2 separate regions of the Homo sapiens genome follow, and region 1 is linked to region 2. Evidence: promoter capture Hi-C in 16 types of primary human blood cells and fetal thymus (Javierre and others, 2016). All regions are on one chromosome and are shown on one strand. Each heading gives the region's core, a stretch centred on a gene start or on the middle of the fragment in contact. The rest is flanking DNA. Distances are from core to core; before and after follow the strand shown. Region 1 holds the start of FAM83A-AS1 (FAM83A antisense RNA 1). Region 2 has its middle 25 kb from the start of ZHX2-AS1.

Region 1 (4,116 bases), core at 1,492-3,991, 450 kb after region 2:
AGTTCATCTCTCCCTGTCTTATGGGAGCTACTGGGGAATTAAAATGAAAAACAAAATCTTCTCTCAGAAAACTTCCCTACGAAAGTAGAAGTGAAGGAAAACAATTGTGTTATCAAGTAAGCATTGGACCAGAATATGATGCACATGATGGGCAACTCACTACAGAGACAGCAGGCAGAACAAAACCTCTCTTTCATATAGCAAAGTGGATCCAACCCATTACAGTAGGGAGGTTCTGCTTGTGGAGTCAGAGGACAGCTGCAGTCAGGCCCACCTTCTTCCAGAACACCGGAGGATGGAGTGTGATTTACATACAGCTAAAATTTTTGAAGTAGAAAAGGAAGAAGGGGAAGGTCTCTTCCCTTATTTTCAGTGGGAAGAATTAAGCATCTCATCTTTAATTTGCACTTGCCCTTCCAGAGTCCATCACGCAGCTGGGGGGCCCTCGCCCTGGGCAGGGGCAGGAGGAAGCAGAACTAACATTGCTGAAGGATGTCAGGGACTGGGCCAGGTGTGATCAGAACTTTAATAAGGGCCAGGTGTGGCGGCTCATGCCTGTAATCCCAACACTTTGGGAGGCTGAGCGGGGTGGGTCACTTGAGGTCAGGAGTTTGAGACCAGCCAGGTCAACATGGTGAAACCCCATCTCTACTAAAAATATAAAAAATCAGGAGGGGCGCGATGGCTCACACCTGTAATCCCAGCACTTTGGGAGGCCGAGGCGGGTGAATCACCTGAGGTCAGGAGTTCGAGGCCAGCCTGGCCAACATGGCAAAACCCTGTCTCTACTAAAAATACAAAAAATTAGCCAGATGTGGTGGTGGGTGCCTGTAATTCCAGCTACTTGGGAGGCTGAGGCAGTAGAATTGCTTGAACCTGGGAGGCAGAGGTTGCAGTGAGCCGAGATCCACTCTAGCCTAGGTGACAGAGCAAGACTCTGTCTCAAACAAATAAACAAAAAAAAAAAATATATATATATATATACACATATATACAAAAAAAAAATTAGCTGGTGTGGTGGCACGTGCCTGTCATCTTGGCTACTAGGGAGGGTGAGGCAGGAGAATTACTTGAACCTGGGAGGTGGAAGTTGTAGTGAGCCAAGATGCACTCCAGCCTGGGCGACAGAGTGAGACTGTCTCAAAAAAAAACAGAAACAAAAACAAAAACAGACTTTAATAAGGATTTAATCTTTATGACAACACTTTGAAGAAGGCATCATCCTCCTAATTGACAGAAGTGGGGTGGGGGATTTAGGCACAGAGAGGGGAGGCAACTGATCCAGGGTCACCAGCTTCCTTGACTAGGGTCACCAGCTCTCCAATCCCTGTGAAGCTGAGGGCTGGGCTTGTTAGCCTGATGTGCAGCCCAGGAGGAAGGCTGCCACAGCCGGAATACATGCAGGGCCGTCTGTGTTTACTGTCATTCCTGAGAGCTGTGGAGGAGCCAGCTCCTGGAGGGAGAACAGGACACCAACAGTGATTTTGCCCTTGACATTCAAAGGTGACCTGCTTACTAGCCTTTCAGGGGATCATCTTCACTGGGACCAGTCTCCCCTTAGAGTTGTTTCCAGTAAAAACAAAAACAAACAAAGAAAAAAAACCAGAAGAGGCCATTTATCCCTTTCTTTTAGCCCCGCTACCTGGGGGCTTCAGATATTTTGGCCCCTTCTTCTGGTTGTATATGGTTCTCCCAAACTGAAGAGCCCTGCTTCCTCCGCTGAGGCTAGAGGGCTGAGGTTGTGCATTTCAACACTGAAGGGCTGGTTGAGGGTCTGACCCCAGCATAGGTGCCATGCCAGGGCCATCAAGAAAAATTGCTGAGTGGCCAGAGTGGATTGGTGTGTGTGCTCTGAGATCAGCAGGAGCTAAGGAAGTGCTCTGGGGTCAGCTGAGAGGGAGCCACCACTTCTGCCTAGCAGGTCCAGGAGGTCGGTGCCATTGGCTGGAGTTGGGCCTTGAAGGATGAGAATTATTCAGCCCTGGTGGGGAAGAGGCAGGCAAAATTGGGCATTGGGAACAGGATGGGGAACAACAGCAAGACATCATCCTGGCTTCTAATTGGCCTCCTGCCCCGCCCCCACTGCCATCCATGGGTTTTCTCTCCCAGGAACAGAAACACAAACCAGATCAAACCACTTTAAAATCCTTCAGTACTCGCCACTGCTCCTAGGAACAACAACAACAACAAAAATCTACATCCTTACCAGGGCCTCTATCTCAGTAGGATCCCCCCACTCCTCCACTGTGTTGGAGCCACACTGGCCGCTTCCTCAGTCTTTCATGCTCTTTCGAGTCGCAGGGCCTTTGCACTTGCTGTTCATGCCCTCCGTCGGAGAGCTCATTCCTGCTGTCTCTATCTTGCTTACTCTTTATCTTGTAGGTGGCAGCTTCCAGATCATTGCCTCAGAGACCTCTGATCACCACCCCGAGCCCTCTTATCCTCTATGGCTTCACTCCCATCATGATTTGGAATTATTTATTTGTGAACTTGATTAGCCGAGATTGTAAATGACATGAGGTCAGGGACTGGACTGGGTATGTTTTCTTCTCTGTTGCTTTCCTGGCATGAAGTACAGTAAATACAGCACCTGATACATTATACATGGCCACAAATATTTGTTGAATGAATGAATAAAAGCACATTGGGTTCTGACCATTCAGTGTCCTGAAAGAATGCAGTTTTTCAAACTGTGCCTCACCATCCATTAGCGGGGTGTGAAATCAATTTAGTAGATGATGTCTAGCATTTTTTTTAAATGACACGGAATAGAATAAAAATAATCAGACCACGCTGAGGTAAAGGATGTTCTGGAAATTATTGTGTGGTTATGTACTTGTGGGTCATGATGTTAAATGTGCTTTTCCAAGAATAGCCAAGATAAATCCGAAAAAGAAAAACAAGCAGGGACGACTTGCCCTACCAGAGTTCAGAACTTGTCATGAAACTGCAGTAATCAAGACAATGTGTCATTGGAGGAGGGACAAATTGACACACAGAACAGAAAGCTCAGGCACATATTCACACACCACAGGGCATGACAGAGCAGTGGGGAAAGGAGGAACTGGAAAAAATAACTCCCCGTATGTAAAATGGGATTACTACCCACCATGCACGCATTTGTTTACAAATCGACTTGCAATAGTTGAAAAGAATTTGAATGTTGAAAATAAACTAAAACTCTCAGTAGATTTCTTTAAAAGGAAAACATACACACATTAAAAAAAAAAAAGCAGTGACCATAAAAGTTTGCTTAATCTGACTATATTACAATTAAGAATGTTGGTTCATTGAAAGACATCTTGGCTGGGTGCGGTGGTTCACATCTGTAATCCCAGCACCTTGGGAGGCAGAGGAAGGTGGATCACCTGAGGTCAAGAGTTCAAGACCAGCCTGGCCAACATGGTAAAATCCTGTCTCTACTAAAAATACAAAAATTAGCCGAGTGTGGTGGCACGTGCCTGTAGTCCCAACTACTCGGGAGGCTGAGGTGGGAGGATCACTTGAATCCAGGAGGCAGAGGTTGCAGTGAGCTGAGATCAAGCCACTGCACTCCAGCCTGGGGGACAGAATGAGATCTGTCTCAAAAAAAAAAAAAAAAAAAAAAGTAAGAAAAGAAAAGAAAAAAAGAAAGACATCTTAAAGGAAGTGAAAAGTCAGTTACAAACTGGAAGCAGCTATTCAAGATGCACACCCCTGACAGAGATTAGTGCTGAGACTCACAAGAGCACAAGAGCACAGCAGAAAAGTGGGTGGGAGACATAAGCAGGCGTTTCACCAAAGAGGCAACATATGGTTAAAAAAACAAAACAAAAAATTAGCCAGCATTGTTGTAACCCCAGTTACTTAGGAGGCTGAGGCAGAAGAAGCGCTTGAACCCAGGAGGCAGAGGTTGCAGTGAGCCGAGATCACGCCACTGCACTCCAGCCTGGGCAACAAGAGTGAAACTCCAACTCAAAAAAAAAAAAAAAAAGGACAAAAAAAAATTCTATAATTATGGAAAAAGGAAAGCAAGGGCGTTATGATCACAGGATTCATGATGTGCTGAGTTCTAGTTCAGGGGTCCTGGGAAAGGGATGCAAGAAGGGACCCTATGGCTAGATGTGGACTATCCTC
Region 2 (4,351 bases), core at 641-3,140:
ACACACAATAGAACAAGAGAAACCCAACTGCGAAGTCTCTTTCTCACATCCTTTAGGTGGATGGCATCTGCCTTGCATTAGAGAAGAGAATAAAGAACTTTCCTGGCCCGAGAACATCTCCAGCAAAGGATGCAGCTGGGAAAAGCCTGCTAAACCCACTCTCACAGCAAAATTTGAGGTCAATGGGCCAAGTTATTAGATCAGAAATTATGAAGCCAAGAAAGCGAGGAAAAGCAGCAGCAATGTGGCTGACATCTCCACTAAGAGGCTGGACAAATAGTGCCAAGAATTTTGTCCTCTGTTCACAGGACTCTGACAGGCAAGTGACATATCTTCGGATCAGATCAGCGGAGTGGCAAGGTGAAGTTAAGCAGGTCAGAGGCCTCTCAGTCTCCCTTCTCAGACACAGTTACAGAAGAAAGAGAGGGACTATGAACAGTTAACGGCCTCATAAGATGTGCATAGAAACTAGCAACTGTGATTCATTCAAGTTTACACTGCAGGCCCTGAGATAAGTACTTGAAACATATTTATCTCACTGGATTGTCACAACAGCCATATAGGTCAGTATAATTATCATCTCCATTTTACAGGTGAGGAAACTGAGGATGAGAGAGACCAAACAATTTGCCTAAGATTTCATTGATATAAGCAATGCAAGCACAATTTGAACCCAGGCAAACTAAATTCCTGAACCCACACTTATAACTACCCTTATTCTGTTTCCCACACAGTTAACGATGGGAAGGGATGGGGGTTGGCGTGGGCAGAACTAGACTCTAGGTCTGTCCAGCTGTAAAACTCTGGCCTACTCAAAACACTGTATACCCATGGTTTCTTGGAGTGACACAAACACACACACACGTGTGCAAAATAGCATGCAGGCAATGAGCATGTACCCCATCTCTGCCTCCAACATACTTCCATCTTGCTTTAATGTCTACCTTTTGTGTGTGTGTCTTTACAATGTCTTCTTTGAGGCTGCATGTCCAGGAATCAGAAAAACCCAGAGTTGGGGTCTCAGGGCTTCCTCCATGTGACTTTATATGAGAAGAATCGCTGGCTGTGGAATGTGAGACACACAGCCCATCTAAGCCACCAGGTAGTACCCCATGAATTCTGGGGCAGGGTCACCCCCAGAATGGGTAAGTGTTCACGGAGGGATCTAAGTCCAGCCAGACCTGGGACTTGCCCTGGCCTCCCCACCCCACCCCACTGCCACACACACATCTTTGCAGCTGTATGGTACTGGGAAAGTTACAGTCACAGTACTCAAGACCAAAAATTTGCCAGGTTTTCCAGTCAGATACCTAGCAAGTTTTGAAAAATCTGGACTCTGAACAAGTGAGGCAAAGCATCACTGAAATAAAAGCCGCAGGTATTATTTGTAAAAAAATAAAACTCCTAGAAGAGCAGCCGTGGGGTAAGTAAAGTATGGATGACCCGAAGGGGAGAGGAATAGAGAAAGAAACTGATGGGAGAAGAGAAGCCCCAGGTGCATGAGCCACGCACTCCCAGAAGCAGAACTGGGGCACCCCAGGTATGACAAAAACAACCTAAAGGAGAACCAGCCAGGAACACAAAACCTGCCCAAAGTGGCACCTGGGAGCAGGACTTTATGGGGTTCCACCTTCCTAGCCTCACCTTAGGGCCCTGTGCAAAGGCTTCTTATACAGGCAGAGAGGTTGTTCATCTCAAACATTAGTCTCATGGGTGCAGTGTCATTGGGGCCAACTCCTGCACACCTCTTCAGCAGCCCAGGAGTCAGAGGCCACGTGGGTCACATTACAGGTGGGCAGTGGTGAGACATTCAAGGATCACACTCCTCCTTGTCGTAGAGCCCCAGAGGGGAGCTTTGGCCCAGGTTAAGGCCCCAGTGACTTCATCAGTGGATCTGAACTGGGTAGTATCAAGTTGTTAATAATAATAATAAACAAGACTCATTAAGAGCTTAGTATGTACCAGTTACTGCTCTAAACACTTGCATGTAATAACTCATTTAATCCACATACAAGATCGAGATGATGTAATCATATTTATCATGTTGTGAATATTAAAAGAGATGACACACAGTGTGTGATTTTGCTTTTTGTGAAATTGATGATAAGGATGATCACGGTAGTGGTGCTAGTAATGGTGGTGGCAGTGGCGATGATGGCAGTAACGAAGGTGATAGTGATGGTAACATGCATTATAGTGTAGTGAGTAAAGATATTGATTTGGAGTTACACCAAGACCTGGTTCAAATCCCAGCTCTACCACTTAGTCATTGTGTGACCTTAAGCAATTCAATTCTTTGAGTCTCAGTTTCCTTAACAGTAAGATAATAATATGTCTCTCATGGTATTCTTGGGAAGAGAAAATGCATGTCAATGCATGTCTTAGCACAGTACCTGGTACTTCATACGCTAGTGGCTGCTGTGGAGAGAGGACAGTGGCAACAATGCCTGCAGCAACAATGGCAACGATGTCAGAGCTTCTCCACAGTGGAAGGGGAGTTCCTGATCACACTCTACACAGCCCTTCCAGCAGAGACAACCTGAGGAGCCTCCTCTCTGGGGGAATGTTTTTTTGTTTGTGTGTGTTTGTTTGTTTGTTTGTTTGTTTTGTTTTGAGACGGAGTTTCGCTCTTGTTGCCCAGGCTGGAGTGCAGCGGCACGATCTCAGCTCACTGCAACCTCTGCCTCCTGGGTTCAAGAGGTTCTCCTGTCTCAGCCTCCCGAGTAGCTGGGACTACAGGTGCCCGCCACCATGCCCGGCTAATTGGGAGAATGTTTTTCACAAGCCACGTTTAGTCCCAAGTACACAAGAAGGCCTTCCATGCCGTTGCAGGCGCCACTCACTTAACCATTAACCAAGCTGGCCCTGGCCACACTGGGAAACCGACAAAGGTTATCTCTGGCATTATTGCATCACCTTCTCACCCCTTGCCCTGGCTTCCTGGGACCTTACACCAACCCCTAGTCTGCTGGGACTAGAGTCCCAGCCTTACCACATCTCCTTCTCCTTCCCAGAGCATTGCTTTTATCCTTCTGTGTCCAGTCAGCATTTGCCATTTGGGGTTCTATGGCCTTGAAGTTAATAATAATAATAGCTAACATATTAATATAATAGCTAATGTATATTGTGTGCTTACATTGATAGGTTTATGTAATCCTCACAACCACTCTATAAGTTGAGTGAAGGTATTAGCCTCATTTTACAGGTGAAGATGCTGAGGCTCAGAAATGGTAAGTAACTTTTCTTCGTCACACAGCTTATAAATTGCAGAACTGATACCTGACTTGAGATGTGTTTGATTTTGGAGCCCAGGTTCATTCTACCATATGATGCTGCCTGCCTTAAGCAAAGGCTTAACCCACAGGACTGAGAGTATTGAACACATAGGATGAAGAAGAAGCTGTTGGGGGAATAATGCATTTGGCTGACTCTCAAATCCTTCTAGAAAGGAGCTCTCCACCACTCGCTTTTCTCCAGGCCCTGTCCAGGCATTGTCATTGTCCAACTCTCGTGGTTACTATGAATCTTAGAAATGGTGTGTCAGCTCCACGTTCTAAAACTTGCTTGCTCATAAAACAGATTTAAAAAAAAAATATTGCAGCACATGCTTAGTTCCAGTAGTTCCACTTCTAAGTTCCACTTCTAAGAGGCTTTTGTAGAAACTGAGCAAGAGATAACAGTAAAAAGGGAGCAAATTCAAGCACTGGGACCAAAGTTTCCTGCATTGGACATGGTCATGACAACTGATATTGGTAAGATTTAAGAGGCTGTTGTGATCTTGCCATCAGCTCTGCCATTCTACCATTCTGGGACTCTTTATGATAATAACAGCAAAGGATGATTTCAGACTCCAGGTAACAGACAAGCTGATGGTGTTGCAGATGCAATGTTGGCACTCTCCAGGCAAGCCCAGTGTTCGGTGTATAAATAGAAGGCCGAGGTCATCAGGAAGCATGCCGGGGCTGAGGTCATCCTCCCCTGACACCATCATGGCAGGCCCCAGGCGAGTGTTGGGTCCACATCTGCTCCCCACAACCAGCCTGAGTCAGGAGAACATGATAGGTGGTGAGCGGGAAGCCAGCAAGTTGACTGGAGAATATCACCTGGGAAAAAGGAAAAGCCAGCAGGATGATTCAAAAATGGCAGGCAACTATGTACTGTGGGCCAGGTGTTGCTTTAAGCTCTTTATATTAATTGCTTCATTTAACTCTCATAATCAGCATGGCTACTATTATCTCCATTTTATAGATGAGGACAAAGAAGGGGGGTAGTAATTTGCCCAAGGCAGTACACTGAAGAGTCAGGCTTCCATTCCAGGAGGTGAATCAAGAGCTCCTAAATTTAACCACCG

Evidence for each region. The method cuts DNA at HindIII sites, captures the fragments that hold promoters and counts their contacts. A CHiCAGO score of 5 or more calls a contact.
Region 1: a contact is called between the fragment with the promoter of FAM83A-AS1 here and a fragment that was not itself captured in region 2, in 8 of 17 cell types (total CD4 T cells, naive CD4 T cells, naive CD8 T cells and 5 more). The highest score is 9.0, in total CD4 T cells.

What each region holds. Positions count from the first base shown.
Region 1 is chr8:123,200,002-123,204,117 of GRCh38, forward strand. It overlaps FAM83A-AS1 (FAM83A antisense RNA 1), which reads right to left and starts at 2,742. Exons shown (of 3, transcript NR_024479.1): 1 at 2,207-2,742; 2 at 1,643-1,981; 3 at 1,171-1,453. All of the region lies in intron 3 of FAM83A (family with sequence similarity 83 member A), which reads left to right. The HindIII fragment of the contact is 13,090 bases long and covers 1-4,116 here.
Region 2 is chr8:122,754,378-122,758,728 of GRCh38, forward strand. No RefSeq gene overlaps it. Among named protein-coding and RNA genes, the nearest start is that of ZHX2-AS1, 25 kb to the right of the region's middle. RefSeq lists enhancers at 2,753-3,047, 3,853-4,147, 3,992-4,351. The HindIII fragment of the contact is 7,858 bases long and covers 1-4,351 here.